2 separate regions of the Homo sapiens genome follow, and region 1 is linked to region 2. Evidence: promoter capture Hi-C in 16 types of primary human blood cells and fetal thymus (Javierre and others, 2016). All regions are on one chromosome and are shown on one strand. The core of a region is centred on a gene start or on the middle of the fragment in contact, and the rest is flanking DNA. Distances in the headings are between cores, read along the strand shown.

Region 1 (7,016 bases), core at 32-2,531, 160 kb after region 2:
TTGGTCCTGTATAAATTGCAGCAAATAAGGTATTTTTAATTGTGTTCAAGTACTAGACAATGTAAGTCAGACTTTTTAAACTATCAATGTATAATTATGCCTCAGAACTTTTTCCCCAATAAGCATATAAGCAGTTGAAGTCAATATAAAGTTACTATGATGGAAAAATACAATGAGTATTAAGGAGTCCTGTGGGGGTAATTGTGCATGAAAGAACACAAAAACACCTAACCTTTCCCCTTGGAGAAATATTAGGAATTTCAAATAGAGGAGAACACAGTCTAAGTGTCAAGCAAGCTTAATATCTTGCCCTTATGCGTAATAGAAGCAAAATTAGACTCATACTTAACTGGTCCATTTCTCAAAGAGTAATTATTTCATCATACCATTCTAAAGCCATCTTAATATAGAAATTTTTAACACAGAAACTCAAAGACTGTAGCCAGTAAGCCAGCCACAATGGCACACATATGTAGTCCCAGCTACTCAGAGTATTGCTTGTGCCCAGGAGTTCGAGACTCGCCTGGGCAATGCAGTGAGACACTGTCTCTTAAATAAATAAATAAATAAATAAATAAATAAATAAATAAATAAAGCCTGCAGCCAGTAATGTGAACAGATAAAAAAAATTACAACTTCTAATAATATCTTCCCAAATTTTGAAGCCAGCTTTTCTTTTCTTATTTAACATCTAAAATGTTGTGGTATGCAGAATTTTGGCATGCATTTTAATCTTTGCCCCTGGGATTACTTCTATGGTTATGGTTCATTACATGGTAAAAGGATGTTAATGATCTAATGAAGGTTTCTAATCGCCTGACCCTAAAATAGAGAAATTATTCTGGATTATCCAAGGGGACCCCAAATAATCACATTTACCCTTAAAAGCAGGAGAGGAAGTCAGAGAGATGCAATAGAAAAGGGAGTCAAAGGAATTGAAAGTATGAGAAAGATGTAATGTGCTGTTGTGGGCTCGAAGGTGAAGGGGGCCATGTAGGAGGCATGAGTATAGGAACTGAATTCTGACAACAACCTGAATAAGTTTGTGCTTTAAAATGTAAGTCCTATTATTATTCAGGTATGGTGGGCCAAAAGATCAGAAGACAGTTGTCATTAAAAAGACAGTTTGTTACAGCTGCCAAAAGGAGGGGGCACGCCACACCACACAGGGAAGCACCAGGGTTGGTCAGGACACAAGAATCCTAATTGTGGTTTCCATAGGAAGAAATGGGTGAGGCAGAGTATGAAGGTTTAGAACTGGCTAGTTAGAAAAATTACATTGGGTTCTGGAGAATAGAGGTTTTCCCCACGTGCCTGGTACCTGGGCCCTGGGATAATTGTGCAAGTGGAAAGAGGTCCTGAGTGTGAGTCTGATAAATGAGGTGGTTAGGGTATGGGCTCTGAGTTTGCTAATCTGCATATGAAAGGTACACTCAAAGGCAAGTCATTTACTATCTCTAGGAATTGGCTAGCCCTAGAAGGTACAGGCACGGGAGCGCCAGTAAAGTCCCAGTTGTCAAAGCATCAAAAATACAGAAATAAAAAGGCATGATTAATACCTTGGATACAGCTTGGATACAGATTCTTCCCAATAGCCGCCAAAAAGGAATGCAGCCCTACCAACACCTTGATTTTGGCTTTGTGAGATTCTGAGCAAAGAATCCATGCCACGCCATGCCATGCCAGACTTCTGTTCTACAGATCTGTGAGAAAACAAATGGATATTGTTTTAAGCTGTTAAATTGGTGGCAATTTGTTATGGCAGCAAGAGAAAACTAACACATATGCCAAATCTTCTTTGGGGTATGCTTCTAATTAATTCTCTGGGCATAATATATCCTGCAGTACTTTCTGCCCTTTCACAATTACAATCATACAGAAAAAGGCTAATTAGACAAGCTATGTTTGATGACTATTTTTGAAAGGCTTCCATCAAGTTAAATATCATATGAAAATTCTAATGCTATTCACCATTAGAGTATGGAGAAAAATTAAATCAAGATGTACTTTGAGTTTGTGAAGCTCAAATTATTAAAACTTTAAGCATTTGAAGATTGTGTGAGATATAACAAAGACTGATAATGCAGCACATGTGATCCATTCCTATTAGGCAAAAAGCTAACTGTATTAATATATATATTCAGCCACAACTTCAGATCGAGATAATGTCATAAATTCATGTTTTGGGCCACTCCCCACCCCAAATAAGTTTATAGCAATGAAAGATAAAATAGAAATTTGAAAAAAAATTGTAGCCAAGCTTACAAAAAGACAAACATTTCTGTGGGTCAGAAACCAAATATTCATTCATTCATTTACTTAACAAGTTTTTATTTAGCAACAATGTGATAGACATTGTTCTATACAAAGGATTTTGAGCTGAACAGAATAAAGTTCCTGCTCTTATGAAATTTAGGATCTAACAGAAGAGAATTGTAACAGAAACACAAAGCAATACATTGGTGGATGCAGTAGGCAAAGGCAGACAGGAATTTACATCCTTAAGGGAAATCAAGACTGTAAGCATCCTATGTGAGGTAGAAGACCAAATCCAGTCACACTGCTTGAAATAAGAGACAAGAGTGGATCCCAGCACTTTAGGAGGCCAAGGTGGGCGGATCGCCTGAGGTCAGGAGTTTCAGACCAGCCTGGACAACATGGTGAAACCCCGTCTCTACTAAAAATACAAAAATTAGCCAGGTGTGGTGGCACAAGCCTGTAATCCCAGCTACTCAGGAGGCTGAGGCAAGAGAATCACCTGAACCCAGGAAGAGGAGGTTGCAGTGAGCCACAATCACACTACTGCACTCCAACCTGCATGACAGAGCGAGATTCTATCCAAAAAAAAAAAGAGAGAGAGAGAGAGAGAATGGAAAGGAAGTTGGAAAAAGCTATATTTCTGTACCTTCCTCTTAATGTTGCAGTGAACCTGAAACTTTTCCAATAAAATTGCCTTTTTAAAAAATTATTGGCCGGGCGCAGTGGCTCATGCCTGTAATCCCAGCACTTTGGGAGGCTGAGCCTGGTGGATCACAAGGTCAGGAGTTTGAGACCAGCCTGGCCAATATGGTGAAACTCCATCTCTACTAAAAATACAAAAATTAGCCAGGCATGGTGGCATGTGCCTGTAGTTCCAGCTACTCAGGAGGCTAAGGCAGAAGAATGGCTCGAACCCGGGAGGCAGAGGTTGCAATGAGCTAAGATCGGGCCACTGCACTACAGCCTGGGCGACAGAGCAAGACTCCATTTCAAAAAAAAAAAAAAAAGAAAAAAAAAGTTATTGATTTAGTTTGAGTCTGCATCCACATCAAATTTCATGGTGAATTGTAATCCCTAGTGTTGGAGGTGGGGCCTGGTGAGAACTGATTAGATCACGGGGGTAGTTTCTCATGAATGATTCAGTACCATCCCCTTTGGTACTGTCCTCATGATGGTGAGTGAGTTCTCATGAGATCTGCTTGTTTATAAGTGTGTGACACCTCCCCCCACCTCCTCTCTCTCTCATGTTCCTGTTCCTGCCATGTGAGATGCACCTGCTCCCACTTTGTCTTCCACCATGAGTAAAAGCTCCCTGAGGGCTCCCAGAAGCAGATGCTGCCATGCTTCCTACACAGCCTGGAGAACCGTGAGCCAATTAAACCTTCTTTCTTTATAAATTCCCCAGTCTCAGGTATTTCTTTATAGCAATGTTAAGAACAAACTGATACAGTTAGAAATCCTGGAAATTAAAAATTAGAGTTTAAGTTTTCAAAAACCTTAATAATTGAGATAATGGAATCCAGAATTGATATATTGAAAGAGTACTAGGAATTTACCCAGAACCCATTATGGTGGAATAAAGAGGTGCAAACACATTATAAAAAATATGGAAGATCCATTGGGCATCTCCAACATATATATAATGGGAGCACCAATAAATAGCATTGAGGAAATGGCATAAACTTTTCCAAAATAGAAGAAATACAGTAGCCTTCAGATTAAAAACAACCACCAAGTGCTACACAGAATAAGTGGGCCAAATTTATGCTAAAGTAAAAAATCTATTCTTAAAATACATATTTATATTTAAAATCTCTAGAAGTCTAAATATAAGAACTTATACACGGATTTCCATGTTCCTTAGCAGCTCCAAAACTCAATGGAAGACACACATAAGTAAATTTTGAATTTCCAGTTAAAACTGGTTTGGAAATTGTATCTAACAATGTTAAATTTATCTTGTCTTCCTAGTAATAAATTGCCTATCCATTTCAATGATTCTGTGGAGTAATGATGTTGAAGTTACTCAAAAAGTTAAAATGGAGGAAAAAATAAAGTCAGCCATAGGGGAAATGAAATACTATTAATAAATTACCTGTATTATCTGGAAGAAGGGCAAAGTTTCTATTAACTTTAGATTTTGATAAGTAAATTAGGCATGTTAGAATGTATAGTGTAATTACTAATAGAATAAAACTGGAGTATATAACTACAAAGCTAATAATTTTAAAAAATATTGCCAGTCAATCTGGAAAAAAAGCAAACAAAGAAAAAAATGTAGACCAGGTATGTCAAACAGAAATAAATAAAATAAAATAACATAATTAAATAAAAATATATCAATGGTTACCTTCAATGTAAATAGACTAGATGTTCCAGTGTTAGAAACAAAGATTTTTAACCTGGATTTTAAAAGGACATTGAGAAATTGAAAGTTAAAAGATGCAAAAATCATAAACCATGCAAATAATAACCATAAAAAAGCTGTGTGCACTTATGTTAATATCACACAAAATCAACTTTAAGGGAAAAAAGTGTCTGGCACTGTGGCTCATGCCTGCAATCTCAGCACTTTGGGAGGCCGAGGCACGTGGATCACCTGAGGTCAAGAGTTCAAGACCAGCCTGGTCAACATGGCAAAACCCCCTCTCTACTAAAAATACAAAACATTAGCTGGGTGTAGTGGTGGGTGCCTGTAATCCCAGCTACTTGGGAGGCTAAGGCAGGAGAATTGCTTGAACCCAAAAGGCAGAGGTTACAGTGAGCAGAGATCACGCCATTGCATTCCAGCCTGGGTGACGAGGGCAAAACTCCATCTTAAAATAAATAAATAAATAAATAAATGTATTCTAAATAAAGAGGCTTCCTAATGATAAAATTTCAATTCACCAAGAAGACAAAATTTTAAATTTGTACATACCTAACATGGCCTCAAAATATGTGAAGCAAAAACTGATCTACAAGGATAAATAAAGGAATTCACAATCATACTAGGAGATTTAGCATACCTCTCTCAGTAAATGATAGAACATTTACTATCAATATTAAGACATTTAACATTGGCTGGGCATGGTGGCTCACACCTATAATCCCAGCACTTTGGGAGGCCAAGGCAGGTGGGTCACTTAAGGTCAGAAGTTCAAGACCAGCCTGGCTAACATGGTGAAACCCCATCTCCACTAAAAATACAAAAATTAGCCAGGCATGGTGGCGCATGTCTGTAGTCCCAGCTACTCAGGAGACTGAGGCAGGAGAATTGCTTGAACCTGGGAGGCGGAGGTTGCAGTGAGCTGAGATCACCACACTGCATTCCATCCTGGGTGACAGAGCAAGACTCCATCTCAAAACAACAAAAAAAGACATTTAACATTAACATTAAAAAGATGACATTTCTTCCCCAATTTATGTAAAACAAACATAGAAAAATAAGGACAAATGATTTGAACAACACAATTAACAAACTGACTTACTAGATGTACCAGACATACACGGAACACTGAATCCAACTGTGGAATGTACACAAGAAATATTTACAAAAATTGCCCATATACTGGACCATAAAGCAAATCTTAACAAATTTCAAAGGACTAAAATCATACAAAGAATGTTGTTCTATGCCCACTATACATTTTGGAAAGATAACTACAAAATTTGCCATTTTTTGAGAAATTATGAAAGGGGCCAAAGAAAACAAATAATGAGAGAAATTAGAAAATAATTTAAATTGAATGATAATGTACAAACTTGAATACCAGAACTTTAAGATACAACTAAAACAATACTTAGAGGGAAACATATAACTTAAACTGAATATGTCAGGAAATTATAAGGACTAAAAATTAGTAAGCTAAGCATTTGTCTCTAGAAATTAGAAAAAGAAAAAGAAAATTGAAGAAAGTAGAAGGAAATAAATAATGAGAGAGTAGATAGATATTAAATAAAAAAAATGGAAAAAAGCCAATAAAGTCAAAAGGTCTTTCTTTGAGAAAAACTAACAAAATTGACAAACCTTTGGTGAAACTGATCAGGAAAAAATAAAGAAGGAATGAATAACAAATATCAGAGGTAAAAAAGGGAACCACTATTGATGCTACACACATTAAACAAATAATAAGAGCAAATTATTGACAGATTTTGTCAATAAATTTTAAAATTTGGATGAAATTTTATAAAAACCTAGAGGAATATCATATATAAAACTGATATCAGAAGAAATAGAAAATATTGAATCCTACAAACATTATAGAAATTAAATCAGTAGTCAAAGTGTGCCCACAAAGAAAACTCCAAGTCCAGATGATTTTACTGGTGAGTTTTAACAAACGCCCAAAGAATTAATAATCCCCATTATATACAACCTCTTCCAGAGAATAGAAAAATAGAAAATACTGTCCAACTCATCTCTTATGGCTAGCATAATTGTGATACCAAAACCTAACAATGATATTATAAAGAAAAGAAAATTATCGGCCAACCTCACTTATGAGCTATGATGGTTAATTTTATGTGTTAATTTGAGTGGGTCATGGAGTGCCTGGATTACACATTGTCTCTAGGTGTGTCTGTAAATGTGTTTTTGGATGAGATAAGCGTTTGAGCCAGTGGACTCAGTAAAATAGATTGTCCTCCCCAGTATGGTTGGGTATCATCCAATCCACTGAGGGCCTGAGTAGAATAAAAGGTGGAGGAAGGAGGAATTCACCCCTTTTTTTCCTGCCTTACTGGTTGAGTTGCCACATCTCATTTCTTTCTTTTTT
Region 2 (6,579 bases), core at 3,361-5,860:
TCAGAGCAATTTTAGGAAGGTGAATTTACTGCAATTTCCACTTGCATTCTGCTAAATCCATGCATCCAGTTTGAATCCATAAAGTTGGACTCCATTAAATAAATCATCCAGCAGGGTGCAGTGGCTCCCGCCTGTAATCCCAGCACTTTGGGATGCCGAGGCAGGTGGATCACAAGGTCAGGAGATCGAGACCATCCTGCCCAACATGGTGAAATCCTGTCTCCACTAAAAATACAAAAATTAGCCAGGTGTGGTGGTGTGCGCCTGTATTCCCAGCTACTCAGGAGGCTGAGGCAGAAGAATTGCTTGAGCCCAGGAGGCGGAGGTTGCACTGAGCCAAGATAGTGCCACTGCACTCCAGCCTGGGTGACAGAGGGAGACTCCATTTCAAAAAAAAAAAAAAAAAATTATCAAAATTTAAAATGTTTGCTCTCAAGAGACAGCATTAACAAATTGGAAAGACAAGACAAAGACTAGAAAGAATGTTCGAAAAATGTAAATCTGAAGAGGACTTGCAGGAAGACTATTTTTAAAAACTCTTACAACTAATAAGACCAAAAAATAAAGAAATGAACACAAATTTGAAATAAAATATATTGATGGACAATAAGCATACGAAAAGCAAAATTCAACATCACTGGACATCAGAGAAATGTAAAATAAAACCACAGTGAAATACCACTTACACACCCACCAGAATGGCTAACATTGTAAATTACTGACAATACCAGAAGTTGGCAAGGATTTCAGGCAAATTGAATCTCACATATTGCTGGTAAGAACATAAAATAACACACTCACTTTATAAAACAGTTTGACACTTTCTTATACTGTTAAACATACCCCTACCATATGACAGCAATTTCACTCCTAAGCGTTTATCTAAAAGAAAACATATCCCAGCAAAGACTTAGAAGTGAATGTCCGTAACAGATTTATTCATAAACAATCCAAGTATCTATTAAGATGTAAACAAACAAATCAGGGTATATACATACAATGGAATACTACTCAGCAATAAAAAGGAATGTGTTTCTCATACACCTAATAACAAGGATGCATCTCAAGCAACATGCTGAGTGAAGGAAGTCAGACCCGAAAGAGTATTTACTCTATGATTTCATTCATATGAACTCCCACTGCAAAAAGGCTGCAGGAGAACAAGGTTGTAAACAAGGAGACCAATTAGGAGGATGTTGCAATAATACAGTTGGAAAATGGTGGTGGCTTAGACCAGAGTGGTTGCAAAAGAGGTGATGAGAAGTGGTTCCATTCTGGATATATCATGAAGGTGAAGCCAACAGAATTTCCTGAAGGATAGAATGCAGGATATCTCAGAAAAAGAGAAATCAAGGATGACTCCATGGTCCTGAATCTGAGCAAATAGAAAGATGAAACTGCTTTAACTGAGATGGTGAAGGTGGGTGGAGTAGGTTGGGGGATGATAACAGCAGTTGTGTTCAGTTTGAAACATCCATTAGATGTCCAAATGAAGATAGCAAGTTGGCAGCTGGATATATAGGAACAGTTCCAGGCTGGAGATATAAATTTGAGAGTTTTCACCCCATTTTTCTGGAAAAGTGGCTGGGAACAGGTAGAAAGAGTTTAAGAGAAACAGGAAAAACCATGTGCACAGATCTTCTTACTGTACAAAAAGTAAAGATCCATTTAAAAAAAATCTGGAGGTCATTAATGACTTGGGGGAAAACACTAGAATTTTGATAGTAAAAATATTTGATACAATTACCAAAACTCTGTATACTCAAGTAAGGTTTAGGGAGGGTTGTACACCTCCCCTCTGATCTTGTCCAATACTGTGTGGCTTGCTACCAAACTGGCAATGTCTAGGTAACCCACACTGGATACCCCAGAGATAAAGAGAGCAGCTTCCACCTGATAACCTCCCTCTCCTGCAGTCGCTACCACCCTCCCACCTTGAGTCAGCAGGAAAGGAAAGGAGCTTTTCCTCTCCTCCTGAGCTCTGCCTCCTGCTCAAGGACAGAGTCAAAGTTTTAACCCCTTCAGTTTGTAAGTTTTCTCATTCATGAAATTGTATTTGGCCATTTGCTTCTTAGAAGACAGCTGCCTTGGAAGCAAGCTATTAGTATGACTTTAGAGTTGGAGCCTTCAGAGGTAACTGCAATTTGTGTGGTATGATTTGATAAAAACAGAAAAAAAGATTTTTCTCTCCAGATTCCTGAAATTCCACTATGAAAGGTGAAAGTGAAATGCCCAACTTTGAATGAGCAGTATTGGAGATTTCACTAAGTCAATAAGTGAAGAAAAGAGAAGCTATAGATGAAAAAAGAAACCCATAAAAAGGGAGACTTTTTATTATATATTGACAAATTATAGTTGTATATATTAATAGGGTACAAGGTGTTATGATTTTTTAATACAATGTGTAATAATTAAACCAAGCTAATTAATATATCCATCACCTCAAATATTTGACATTTTTTGTGATGAGAACATTTGAAATTTACTCTCTTAGTGATAATGAAATATACAGTACTCAATTATCAGCTTTATTCACGACACCGTGCAATTGAACTTTAAAAAAATCAAACTTTTCCTCTCTTTTTTTTTTAGATGGAGTCTCACTCTGTCACTCAGAGGGATGATCTCAGCTCACTGCAACCTCTGCCTTCCGGGGTTCAAGCGATCATCCTGCCTCAGCCTCCCGAGTAGCTGGGATTACAGGCACGTGTCTAATTTTTGTATTTTTAGTAGAGATGGGGTTTCTCCATGTTGGCCAGGCTGGTCTTGAACTCCTGACCTCAGGTGATCTGCCCACCTTGGCTGCCCAAAGTGCTGGGATTACAGGCATGAGCCACTGCACCCAACCCTTATTCATCCTATCTAATTGAGGCTTACACTCTTTGACTGTTATCTCTCCATTCCCTGCAACCCTAGCCTCTGGTAACCACCATTCTACTCTCTGCTTCTATGAGTTCAATTGTTTTAAGTTACTTTCAGATACTTGAGAACATGTGGTATTTGTGTTTCTACATTTGGCTTATTTCACTGTGCATAATGTTTTCCACTTCCATCCATGGTGTCACAAATGACAGAATTTCTTTTTTAAGGCTAAATAGTATTCCACACATACACACAGACACATAAAATGGAATACTATTCTCTTTTAAATTTTGTATGCCTAATAATTCATGGTTAAAGGACAAGATAATAACTATTTTTGAGTATCCCGCTGTGGAGACACGATCTCCTTTGATCCTTGCAGCAATGTGTAAGGTAAGTGGCATCATCTTCCTTCTATTAATGGTAGAACTGAAGATCAAAGAGAGTGTCTAACTTGCTTAGGGCTACATAGCCAAGTGGTGAAGCTAAACTCAGTCTAGGCTTACTTGATAGTACACTAACATTAAATGTCTAGGAGTAAATATCTAAAACAAACTGTAAGTCTTCTCTATTTACCATACAAATTATTCAAGTGAACTGCCATTTTTGCCTGGCTTGAAAGATACTTTTCAGAAGAATGGGCTCATATACACATGCACGCGCGCACACACACACACACAATGGAATACTATTTAGCCTTAAAAACGCATATATATCTAAAATATATGTGTGTACATATTTTATATATATATGTGTTTATATATATAATATATATTATATTTGTATACACACACACATATATGCCACATTTTCTTTATCCATTTATCCCTTGATGGACACTTAGGTTGATTCCATATCTTGGCAATTGTGAATAGTGCTGCAATAAACATGAAAGTACAGACGTCTCTTCAACACACTGATTTCAAATCTTCCCAGTAAATACCCAGAAATGAGATTGCTGGATCATATGATAATTCTACTTTCAGTTTTTTGAGAAACCTCCATACAATTTTCCATCATGTTTGTACTAATTTACATTCCACCAACAGCATACAAGCATTCCCTTTTCTCCATTCTTGCCAACACTTGTTATCATAAAGGGAGGTTTGAGAGACCATAAAACAAACCCCACCTCACAATTTTGTTAGTGCAAGTTCTATTTGGCCTATTCCCAACACTAAGCACACAGTAGGTGGCAAATATTTGTTGAATGGATGAATTCTCATTTTTCTCCATTTGTGGAAGCAGACACCTCCTCAAAAAAAAAAAAAAATCCGAAAGAAAAGGTAAAGGAAACAGTTCTATGAATGGGGGTTAATTTACTCTCCTAGCATTCACTTATTGGGAAAAAAAGTAACAGCAGTTTCTAGAACCCTCTGGTCTCTGAGGGAGATGCTGTGTTCCCCTCCTCAGAGAAGAAGAAAACGCACTAGAGAGTGGGAGCATCCCCAAGGCTGAAGCGCATCCAGGACATCACATGTCAACGTGTCCTCTCTGGCGTGGGGTCCCCGCGAGTCTGGGAAACGAGGAGCTGGCAAGGGAGGGCAAGCGGGGGCGGCAAAGAGGGCCCCTGGAGCAGGGGGCGCGGACCTCGCTGCGCTGCGCGCTCTACCGCCGGGCTCGCAACGCTGGGCTCAGCGCTCGCGCCTCCCTCAGCTCTCTCCTCCGCCCCCCTTCGCCCTCCCCCTTTCCCTCCCTTTCTCCTCCTCCTCCTGCCGCCGCGGCCGCTGCCGGACTTCGCCAGATCAGACCCACGGGGCTGCCCTCCCCTGCGCACTCCCCTCGCTGCCCGGGCCCGGAGCGCAGCGCGGCCGCACAGGTAGGAGCCCCCAACGGGGGGTCGCCCCGAGCGAGCCCAGTACTCACTGGGCCGCGCGCGGGAGAGTGAGGTGGGGTGAGCTGAGGGGTGTTGAGTACCCGAGAACTGCCCTGGACTGTGCAGGGTGTCTCGGGCAGAGAGGGAGGTGGAGGTGTGCAGCCTCGGAATGCGATCTGTCAGCAAGTGCGAGTACTCGGGTGACATCTGTTGGGATGGGCATGTGTGTGCGCGCCGACAACCAGCCGGCAGGGCTTTGCCCATAAACGTGGTTTTGAAAGTTTAGGGGACCAGTGTGCGAGATTTAAGCCGCACCTGGATTCCATAGGAGCTGGTTAGAAGCTGGGACGCTGAGCAGCTCCAGGGGACCGCCGCGTTAGCTTGCTGTTAAGAAAGGGGACCTCATCTCCCTGCCGGGCCAGGCCGCCCGCCCGAAACTGGTACCTTGGGCTGCGGTGCGATCCCTGGTTCCGGTCCTAGGCAGCCTGAAACCGAAGGTAGCGTGTCGGGGACCCAGACTGATAAGACAAAAGAGAATCAGTCGCTTTGGGCTGCCCCTCCACACAACCTGGGACTTTTAAACAAAGCTGTGCGCAGAGAAAGGCGTGGAAATGCCACTTTGAGAGTTTGTGCTGGGGGATGTGAGAAGCTCTGAGACATGTGAGAAGGTCTAGTATTCTACTAGAACTGGAAGATTGCTCTCCGAGTTTTGTTTTGTTATTTTGTTTAAAAAATAAAAAGCTTGAGGCCAAGGCAATTCATATTGGCTCACAGGTATTTTTGCTGTGCTGTGCAAGGAACTCTGCTAGCTCAAGGTGAGTATACTGGGAAAGCCTTAACGTTCTAGAGAACAGAGTTTTGCAGCCCCACCTCCATCCCCCGGGGTGTGGGACTGGGGGGCAGGAAATGCACCGTCCCCTTTGAAATGGATTACTGTTTTTTCCTTTCGACCCCCTCTTTCTGCAGCCTGCTTTGTAGGTGCAGTATAAAATGCACGCTGAATGTCTTTTGTATGTAAACAGCGTAGCAGGATGGAGTAACGTGAAATGCAATTCTACAGCAGTTTTTACGTCTTTGCTGCCTCGTTCGTTGGCTACCGAGAAGGTTCAGGAGGGGGAGGGGAGATGAGAAAGCAGATTGGAAGTTGAGTATGGTGGAGCCTCAGCCTCTCCCACCCTCCTTTCCTCGCTTGTGCTCACTGCTAAAGTTTTGTTACTTTCCCCGCAGCAGATACTAAACATTAGTTTGTCCTGTATTTTCTTTGAGATTCACAATGTTGAAAGCCCTTTTCCTAACTATGCTGACTCTGGCGCTGGTCAAGTCACAGGACACCGAAGAAACCATCACGTACACGGTAAGGGGTGATGGAATTTGAAATAAGTACGGTTCAGCGGGATTCTGTGACAAAAAAAGACTTTACACACCCCTGCCAGTGTATTTGGGCTATACTCTGCTGAGGGTGATAAATTAAACAACACTTCATTCATGCTTCATATCTAAGATTCGTTGTAAATTGCCCCCTTGATCCTTTCAAAAGTTCATTGGGCTCACCACCTAAGATAGGAACCAACATGTAATCATTTGTGCAGGGCTAAAAATGGGATCCGTTCAAAAACTAAAACCAAAGAAAGTTACATGTTTCCAAAACATTCAACAAATTAATGGGTGTAAGGAACTGGAAAACCTGGACTCCTACCACATGCAGATAAAACCAATACGTGCAGAATAAGACTCAAGTCAAGTAAGAACGTTAAACACCATAAAGACACATGGCCTTCTTTGTGTACATGACATGCATTCTCAAGTAAGTGGCCTTTATTGAATTTATAAAGGCTATATATTCATTCTTTTTGTATAACTTGATAATTCTAATAAATAAAGGCAGACAACAGTTTATGTGT

Evidence for each region. Contacts are between HindIII fragments. The CHiCAGO score rates a contact against its expected background, and 5 or more counts as called.
Region 1: a fragment that was not itself captured here is called in contact with the fragment with the promoter of EFEMP1 in region 2 in 1 of 17 cell types (M1 macrophages); the score reaches 5.4 in M1 macrophages.

What each region holds. Positions count from the first base shown.
Region 1 is chr2:55,753,883-55,760,898 of GRCh38, reverse strand. It overlaps LOC107985811 (a long non-coding RNA gene), which reads right to left and starts at 1,698. Exons shown (of 3, transcript XR_001739192.2): 1 at 1,560-1,698. The HindIII fragment of the contact is 1,963 bases long and covers 300-2,262 here.
Region 2 is chr2:55,921,813-55,928,391 of GRCh38, reverse strand. EFEMP1 (EGF containing fibulin extracellular matrix protein 1) reads left to right here and starts at 4,610. Exons shown (of 12, transcript NM_001039348.3): 1 at 4,610-4,681; 2 at 5,453-5,493; 3 at 5,945-6,032. The coding sequence starts at 5,952. RefSeq lists an enhancer at 4,551-5,050. The HindIII fragment of the contact is 8,249 bases long and covers 1-5,421 here.